Regions from separate parts of the Homo sapiens genome. Here regions 2 and 3 are each linked to region 1. Evidence: promoter capture Hi-C in human tissues and cell types (Jung and others, 2019). All regions are on one chromosome and are shown on one strand. The core of a region is centred on a gene start or on the middle of the fragment in contact, and the rest is flanking DNA. Distances in the headings are between cores, read along the strand shown.

Evidence for each region. Contacts are between HindIII fragments. The study calls those that stand out against the background at their distance.
Region 2: a contact is called between a fragment that was not itself captured here and the fragment with the promoter of CPN1 in region 1, in 2 of the 25 tissues and cell types used here (IMR-90 fibroblasts and mesenchymal stem cells).
Region 3: a fragment that was not itself captured here is called in contact with the fragment with the promoter of CPN1 in region 1 in 1 of the 25 tissues and cell types used here (stomach).

Annotation. Positions count from the first base shown.
Region 1 is chr10:100,080,506-100,083,316 of GRCh38, reverse strand. It overlaps CPN1 (carboxypeptidase N subunit 1), which reads left to right and starts at 1,448. Exons shown (of 9, transcript NM_001308.3): 1 at 1,448-1,914. The coding sequence starts at 1,692. The HindIII fragment of the contact is 9,232 bases long and covers 1-2,811 here.
Region 2 is chr10:100,132,238-100,135,048 of GRCh38, reverse strand. It overlaps the pseudogene CYP2C23P. Among named protein-coding and RNA genes, the nearest start is that of CPN1, 52 kb to the right of the region's middle. The HindIII fragment of the contact is 4,461 bases long and covers 1-2,811 here.
Region 3 is chr10:100,114,139-100,116,949 of GRCh38, reverse strand. It overlaps the pseudogene CYP2C23P and the pseudogene TPM4P1. Among named protein-coding and RNA genes, the nearest start is that of CPN1, 34 kb to the right of the region's middle. The HindIII fragment of the contact is 7,748 bases long and covers 1-2,811 here.

The DNA of each region.
Region 1 (2,811 bases), core at 199-2,698:
TTGTTTATCCGCTCAGTGGTTAATGGACATTTGGGTTGTTTCCACTTTTTGTCTCTTGTGAACAATACTGCTATGGACATTTATGTACAAGTTTTTGTGTGGATGTGTGTTTTCATTTCTCTTGCATAGGTACCTAGGAGTGAAACTGTTGTATTATATAGTAAGTATATATTTAACCTTGTAAGAAACTGCTAAACTGTTTTCCAAACTGGCTGTACTATTTATTTGTTTATCTTTATTTTTTATTTTTTTTGAGATGGAGTCTCGCTCTGTCACCAAGCTGGAGTGCAGTGGCGTGATCTCAGCTCACTGCAACCTCCTCCTCTCAGGTTCAAGCAATTCTCCTGCCTCAGACTCCTGAGTAGCTGGGACTACAGGCGTGTGCCACCATGCCCAGCTAATTTTTGTATTTTTAGTAGAGAGGGGGTTTTGCCATGTTTGCCAGGATGATCTCGATCTCTTGACCTCGTGATCCACCTGCCTCGGCCTCTCAAAGTCCTGGGCTACAGGCATGAGCCACTGCACCTGGTCTGGCTGCACTATTTATGAGGGTTCCAGTTTCTCCCTATTCTCACCAACATTTGTTATTGTCTGTCTTTTTTATTGTAGCCATTCTAGTGGAGGTAAAGTATATTTCATGTGTGATTTTTGTTTGTTTGTTTTTTGAGATGAGGTCTCACTCTGTTGCCCAGGCTGGAGTGTAGTGGCATGATCATGGCTCACTTCAGGCCCCACCACCCAGGTTCAAGTGATTCTCTGCCTCAGCCTCCCTAGTAGCTGGAACTACAGGCATGCCATCACACCCAGCTAATTTTAAAAATATTTGTAGAGGTGGGGTCTTGCTATGTTGCCCAGGCTGATCTCAAACTCCTGGGCTCAAGTGATCCTCCCAATTTGGCCTCCCAAAGTGCTGAGATTATAGGCATGAGCCACCATGACTGGATCTCATGTGGTTTTAATTTGTATTTCCTTAATGACTAATGACACTGAACATCTTTAAATGTGCTTATTAGCCATTTGTATATCTATTTTGGTCAAATGTTTTGCCCATGTTTTAATTGGGTTGTTTGTTTTCTTATTGTATTGTAAGGATTCTTTACGTATTATGGGGGTATTATCGGATACATGATTTACAATTGTTTTCTCCCAGTCCGAGGCTAATCTTTTCCTTTTCTTAATGGCATCTGTTGAAAGATTTTTGAGGAAAAAAAGGACAAAATACAGCCATGCTTCAGAAAGATAGGCAGGCAGCAGTACGTGGGATGGATCAAAAGGGACAGAGAACTCTTTTTGAAAGTTGTAATAAAAGGAACAGGCACAGGCCAAGTTTTAAAAAATTCTCCAGGAATCAAAGGGTTATAAGCAGCTATTTATTGAAGCCTGTTTACAGTCCAGTTAACCAGTAAACCAGAATCAGTGAAACTACCCATCTGGGGAAGTGCAAAAAACCTTTCAAAAGGCTTTCCTGGATTAGAGAAAGAAAGGGAGTGAGGGAGGAGAGATGAGTGGCTATTCCAGAACGACATAAAGAATTTCCAGCCTTGGACGGACAGCTGGGAACGTCTTCCAATTTGGACTGGTGTTTACAAGCGGGAAGCTAGGTGGACCTTGGATTTTGGCGGGTGAAGAGGCTAGGTTGTTTAAGGAGGTGGGGCGCGTTTCAGTGGCTCTCTTTGAAAAAGCCCAGCAAGATGTCAGACCTGCTCTCAGTCTTCCTCCACCTCCTCCTTCTCTTCAAGTTGGTTGCCCCGGTGACCTTTCGCCACCACCGCTATGATGATCTTGTGCGGACGCTGTACAAGGTGCAAAACGAATGCCCCGGCATCACGCGGGTCTACAGCATTGGGCGCAGCGTGGAGGGGAGACACCTCTACGTGCTGGAGTTCAGCGACCACCCTGGAATCCACGAGCCCTGTAAGTTCTGAACAGCTCTTGAGGGTGTGTGGGGCAGGGCCTTTCCCTTGCAAATCCAGTAATTGGAGTGGTTTCTGGGGTGGTCCGTGGACGCCTCCGCCTACAAGGTATTATCTCTTTCTCAGCCTGTGCTATTTCCCTCTTAGCCCTCAAACTGCCACTGCCTCTGGGGAGCTATAACCCTCCTTCAGCCTTCAGATCTTTCCTCCTTTTTGGGTTCTGTTTGCTCAAAACTTTAATGGTAAAAGATGAGTCTTCTTCCCTGCTCATGTCCCATATCCCTTCATTTCCCCCATTTCCTTTCTTTTCCCCTTACTATTGTTCTGTCTTTCCCCACCCAATGGCTCAGGAGACATAGGCAAAAACAATGAGCCCTTCTAGTTCTGCCAGGAAACTTAGAAGGGTATAGGGGAATCTCTTCGGGGAGTGACAGTGTGGTATTCCAGAGAGAGTTTGGGGACTTGGGTGTCAGTTTTATTTACTGGATTCTTTTTTATTTTTTATTTTTTTGAGACGGGGTCTGGCTCTGTTGCCCAGGCTGGAATGCAGTGGCATGATCTCAGCTCACTGCAGCCTCCACCTCCTGGGCTCAGGTGATCCTTTCCCCTCAGCCTCCTAGGTAGCTGGGACCACAGGCATGCACCAATACGCCCGGCTAATTTTTGTATTTTTAGTAGAGACAGGGTTTCATCATGTTAACCAGGCTAATCTCAAACTCCTGGGCTCAGGCGATCCACCCACCTTGGCCTCCCAGTGTTGGGATTACAGGCGTGAGCCACCGCACTTAGCCTGGATTCCTTTTTTTAGTTTGTTTCTACTGTAAAAGCAATCCATGTTTGGATTAAAATTTAGAGATTAGATAAGGAAAAAAAATAATAAAACTCACCCCAAATCCCA
Region 2 (2,811 bases), core at 94-2,593, 52 kb before region 1:
AGATATGATAATTTGCTAGAACAACTCACAGAACTCAGGAAGTTGCTATACTTACAGTTTTATTCTATAAAGGATACAAATAGAGAATCCCATAAGGTGAGGTCTGGGAGGCTCTCAAACATAATGTGTTACCCCCCTGGCACACCAATGTGTTCAGTAGCCAGGAAGCTCACCTGAGCCTCAGTGTCCAGAGTTTTTAGTAGGGTCTCATTACATGGGCATGATTGATCGAATCATTGGCCGTGTCATTGAACTCATGAACTCAGTCTCCAGCCTCCTCTCCTCCATGGAGGTTGAGAGTTCAGGCTGATATCACTTGGCTCAAAGCCCCAACCCTCTAAACATATGGCTGGTCTTTCTGGCATGGCTGGCCCCCATCTTAAAACTATCCTAGAGCCCACCTGAATCATCTCATTGGCACATACTCAGGTGTGATCCCAGGGATCCGCTATGTTCCAAAGACACTTTTTTTTTTTTGAGATGGAGTCTCGCTCACTGCAACCTCCACCTCCCAGGTTCAAGTGATTCTCCTGCCTCAGCCTCCCAAGTAGCTGGGATTACAGGCATCTGCCACCATGCCCAGCAAATTTTGTATTTTTAGTAGAGACAGGGTTTCACCATGTTGGCCAGGCTGGTCTCAAACTCCGGGCCTGAAGTGATCCACCTGCCTTGGCCTCTCACAGTGCTTGGATTACAGGTGTGAGCCACTGCGCCCGGGCTACCAATGGCACTTCTAACACTCAGGAAATTCCAATGGTTTAGAAGCTCCCACAAACTATGAACAAAACATATATAATTGTTTGTTTGTTTGTTTGTTTGTTTAATTATATGACAACAGATGCTCTGGTAGCTCCACTGAGATGAACATCAGAAACAGACCCCAAGTGTCCTGCAGGTTCATGCTGTGAATCTAATTGAGATAAAAACAATCTGAGAACCTTTGAAATAAAGAGTTGTTACCCAGAGGTCTCAGGGTTGAGGGAGCTGGAGCAGTCATGCTTGGGGTGTAGTTTCCCATGACACACAGGATGCAGTGGCACTGTGGCCACTGCTGTGGCCACAACAGCAGACAATGACTAGACATAAAAATCACTGTGCTTTCAATGACAGCCTGGGCACCAGGGGGATGGAGAGGAGGAAGGGTCAAATCAGGGGTGTCACGCACAGGGAGCTACAATGGTACCAGCCATGTTTTAGTTCTTCAGTTGGATAATAGGCTCACAAATAATTCCTTTTGTTATTATGCTTCAAAATTTAGATGTGTTACATATATTCCTTTATATGTATCAAGTAACACGCAATACAAAAAATTTAGGACAGTCTGAAAGTCTCCTCTAAACCACTTAAAATTATAAAATTGCAAGTCCTGGAAAAGTAGAAACTAAATCCTTTCAAAGCATATTTATGAATCATTAGTTAAATACAATGCAGTGTATTTAGTGCTACAAGAGAAGTGAGTTTTGGTCTCTCTCACCTAAGATCAAGGTACATTTGTTTACTAAAGAAGCACCCAATTCTTACCACTGAGTTTATGAAAAAAGAAAAATAAAAAAAGAAGTAACCAAGCTCTCCTTCTACAACCTCCCTTTTTGAAAAACAAGTTGATTATATTGGGTATGCATGACCTTTTACATTAATTTTAAAACTGGAGATGGAGGCCACTGGGCTAGATTGCTCTGAAAAGGGGGAAAATTGTTGGTCTAAAACTCGCAGTTTGGGTAACTCTGAAAAAATTGGTTTCCAAACTTTCCTTAAAATTCTTGTTACCACTCCTTACTAGCCTGTAATGGGAACAGATAATTCAGCTCTTCCTTCCACTAACCTTTCTATTTTAGAAAATAACAGAGAAAAGAGCCATTCATTGATATTTTAGTTTTCCTTCTCTATTAGTTCCCTAGGGCTGCCATAACAAAGTACCAAAAATTTGGTGGCTGAGAACAACAGAACTTAATTGTCTCACAGCTTGGGAGGCTGGAAGTCTGAGATCAAGGTGTCGGCAGGGTTGGTTCCTTCTGAGACCTGTGAGGGAGAATCTGTTCCGTACCTCTGCCTTAGCTGCTGGTGGCTTTCTGGCAATTTTTGGAGTTCCTTGGCTTGTAGGTGCATCACCCTGAGCTCTGCCTTCATGTTAATGTGACATTCTCCCCGTGTGCATGTCTGTCTCTGTGCCCAAATGTCCCCTTTTTATAAGGACGGTCATATTGGCTTAGGGCCCACCTGTGACCTCATTTCAACCTGACCTCTGTAAAGATCCTGTTTCCAAATAAGTTCACATTCACAGATATTGGGGGTTAGGGCGCCAACATTTTTTTGGGGGGGAAACAATTCAATAAGTAATACCTTAGTAAATGGAATAACTGCTAAAATACTAAATAGCTTTCTGAGATCTTTAATTTTTTTTTGTTATTTATTTATTTATTTATTTATTTATTTATTTATTTATTTAAGAGACAGGGTCTTGCTATATTGACCAGGCTGGTTTCACAGTCCTGGGCTCAAGCAATCCTCCTGCCTCAGCCTCCCGAGTAGCTGGGACTAAAGGCAAGTGCCACCACACCTGGCTAATTTTTGTAATTTTTGTAGAAATGGGGTCTTACTATGTTGCCCAGGCTGCTCTTGAACTCCAGAGCTCAAGCAATCCTGCTGCCTTGGCCTCCCAAAGTGCAGGAATTACAGGCATGAGCCACCATGCCTGCCCTGCTTTCTGACATCTTTAAATAGCTATAACATAGTGCTGCATATTCCTGGAATATATGTCTAACTAATCAAGTTGTTGAAACCTTTCCTGGTAACTATTGACTCAATATTTTG
Region 3 (2,811 bases), core at 94-2,593, 34 kb before region 1:
GAACGGAAATCTGATTTTTCATGGTGCATTAAAAAAGGGGGCAAGAGATGGAAATGGTACCTGCAGCTCTAGGGTAATCAAGGCAACTCTCACCTCCTTTAATCTTAATACTCTCCTCTCAGGATCACTTGTACTCCGACATTTGGGATATTGCTGCCTCTGACAGTTAACATTTGTAAAGCACATAGAATTTACCAAAATGTTTACATGCACACTGGGGATGTAGTCAGTCTTACATAGTGATTAAGGGTTTGGGCTTTACATTTAAACAGTTCCAAAGCATAGAGGAGGAAGAAAAGATGCCAAACCTGACCAAAATACTGCAAACAGAAACAGCCGCCAGTCTCACTTACAAATATCAATGCAAAAGTCTATTGATGCATAGGTCTGGCATCATATTAAAAATGCTATACCACTGGCTGGGCACGGTGGCTCACGCCTGTAATCCCAGCACTTTGGGAAGCCGAGGCAGGTGGATCACCTAAGGTCAGGTATTCGAGACCGGCCTGGCCAACATGGTGAAACCCCTCCTCTACTAAAAATACAAAAATTAGCAGGACATGGTGGCACATGCCTATAATCTCAGCTAGTTGGAAGGCTGAGGCAGGAGAATCGCTTGAACCCGGGAGGCGGCAGTTGCTGTGAGCCAAGATCCTGGGCGACAGAGCAAGACTCCGTTTCAAAAAAAAAAGAAAAAACTACACCACTAACACAGGAATCAGGAACATAGCAGTGGTGCAATACCAGGAAATCCATCTTAAGAAAACTGACCATATAAATACAATTTTGTATAAATACAATTTATACAAAATTACATAAATACAGATTATGCAAAATTGTACAAATACAATTTTGACATTACATGATAATCTCATTTGTACAGAAAATGCTTTTAAGAATATTTGACATCCATTCTTGATTTTTCTAACCCTTAGTAAAATAGAAATAGATGAATTTCTCTTAAGTCAATGAAAACACATCTCCCAAATTGTGCTTTTTGGTGAAAGACTGGAAACATTCTCATTAATATTGAGAATAAGATGAGGCTGGCTTACACCTGTAATCCCAGCACTTCGGGAGGCGGTGGCAGGCGGATCACCTAAGGTCAGGAGTTTTAGACAGCCTGGCCAACATGGCGAAACCCTGTCTCCACTAAAAATCCCAAAAAAAAAAAAAAAAAAAAAAAATTTAGCCGGGCTTGGTGGCCCGCGCCTATAGTCCCAGCTACTCAGGAGACTGAGGTAGGAGGATCGCTTGAGCCCAGGAGGTGAAGGTTGCAGTGAGCCAAGATGGCACCACTTGCACTCCAGCCTGGGCGACAGAGTGAAACCCCGTGTCGTAAAAAAATAAAATAAAATAAATAAATAAATAAATAAATAAATAAATAAATAAATAACAAGGCTATTTACCATTACAGTATAGTTCAACTGGAATCAGAAAAAAGTAACAAGAAATAAAACATTTAAAAGATGGAAGCAAAAACTTTAGTTGCTATCATCGTGCCTGAAAAACCCAAGAAAATTGACTCCTATAGTCAGTAGGAACAAATCCCCAAATCAACAGATATCGTGCAAGGGCGGGTGACCTCATCGCCCCGACGGCAGCCGGGCCGGGGCTGGGGGTTGGCGGGGGGTGCGGGGCGGCCCCGGTGCAGGCAAAAGTTCAGGGGCCGAGGCGCGGCCGTGCAGCTGTCGTCCGAACCCGGCCGGGTCCGGGGCGCCCGCCGCAGGCGGTGAAACGCAAGATTCAGGCCCTGCCGCAGCAGGCGGACAAGGCGAAGACTGCGCGCAGGGCCTGCAGCGGCAGCTGGACTGGGGGCGCGAGCGGGGGGCGCGAGCGAGCGGCGCGAGAAAGCTGAAGGCGATGTGGCTGTCCTCGACTGACGCATCCAGCTCTTTTTTTTTTTTTTTTTCTTTTTTTATTATTATTATTATACTTTAAGTTTTAGGGTACATGTGCATCCAGCTCTTTAAGGAGGAGTTGGACGGGGCTCGGGAACGACTGGTCACGGCCCTGCAGAAGCTAGAGGAGGGGGGAAAAGGCTGCAGATGAGCGTGAGAGAGAATGAAGGTGATAGAAAACCGGGCTATGAGGGATGAGGAGAAGATGGATTCGGGAGATGCAGCTCAAAGAGGCCAAGCACACTGCGGCCGGAGGCTGACCGCAAATAAGAGGAGGTAGCTCGGAAACTGGCCATCACAGAGGGCGAACTGGCCAGAGCAGAGGAGCGTGCAGAGGTGTCTGAACTAAAATGTGGTGACCTGGCAGAAGAACTCAAGAATGTCACTAACAATCTGAAACCGCCGGAGGCTGCATTGGAAAGTATTCTGACAAGGAGGACAAATACGAAGAAAAAATTAAACTTCTGTCTGACAACTGAAGGAGGCTGAGATCCGTGCTGAATTTGTAGAGATAATGGTTGCAAAACTGGAAAAGACAACTGATGACCTGGAAGAGAAATTTGCCCAGGCCAAAGAAGAGAGCGCGGGCTTATATCAGACACTGGATCAGGCACTAAATGAACTTGACTGTATATAACCAAAACGGAAGAGCCTTGTTCCAGCAGAAACTCCGGAGCTCCGAGTGTCTTTCTCTTCTCTTGTAAGAAGTTTCTTTTGTTATTGCCATCTTTGTTTTGCTGGAAATGTCAAGCAAATTATGAATACATGACCACATATTTTGTATCAGAAGCTTTGAGCACCAGTTAAATCTCATTTCTTCCTTTTTTTAAAAATGGCACCAGCTTTTTCAGCTCTATTTTTTCCTTTGCGTTGCATTTATTCCTAAGGTAGGCAGGGTATTTCCTAGTAA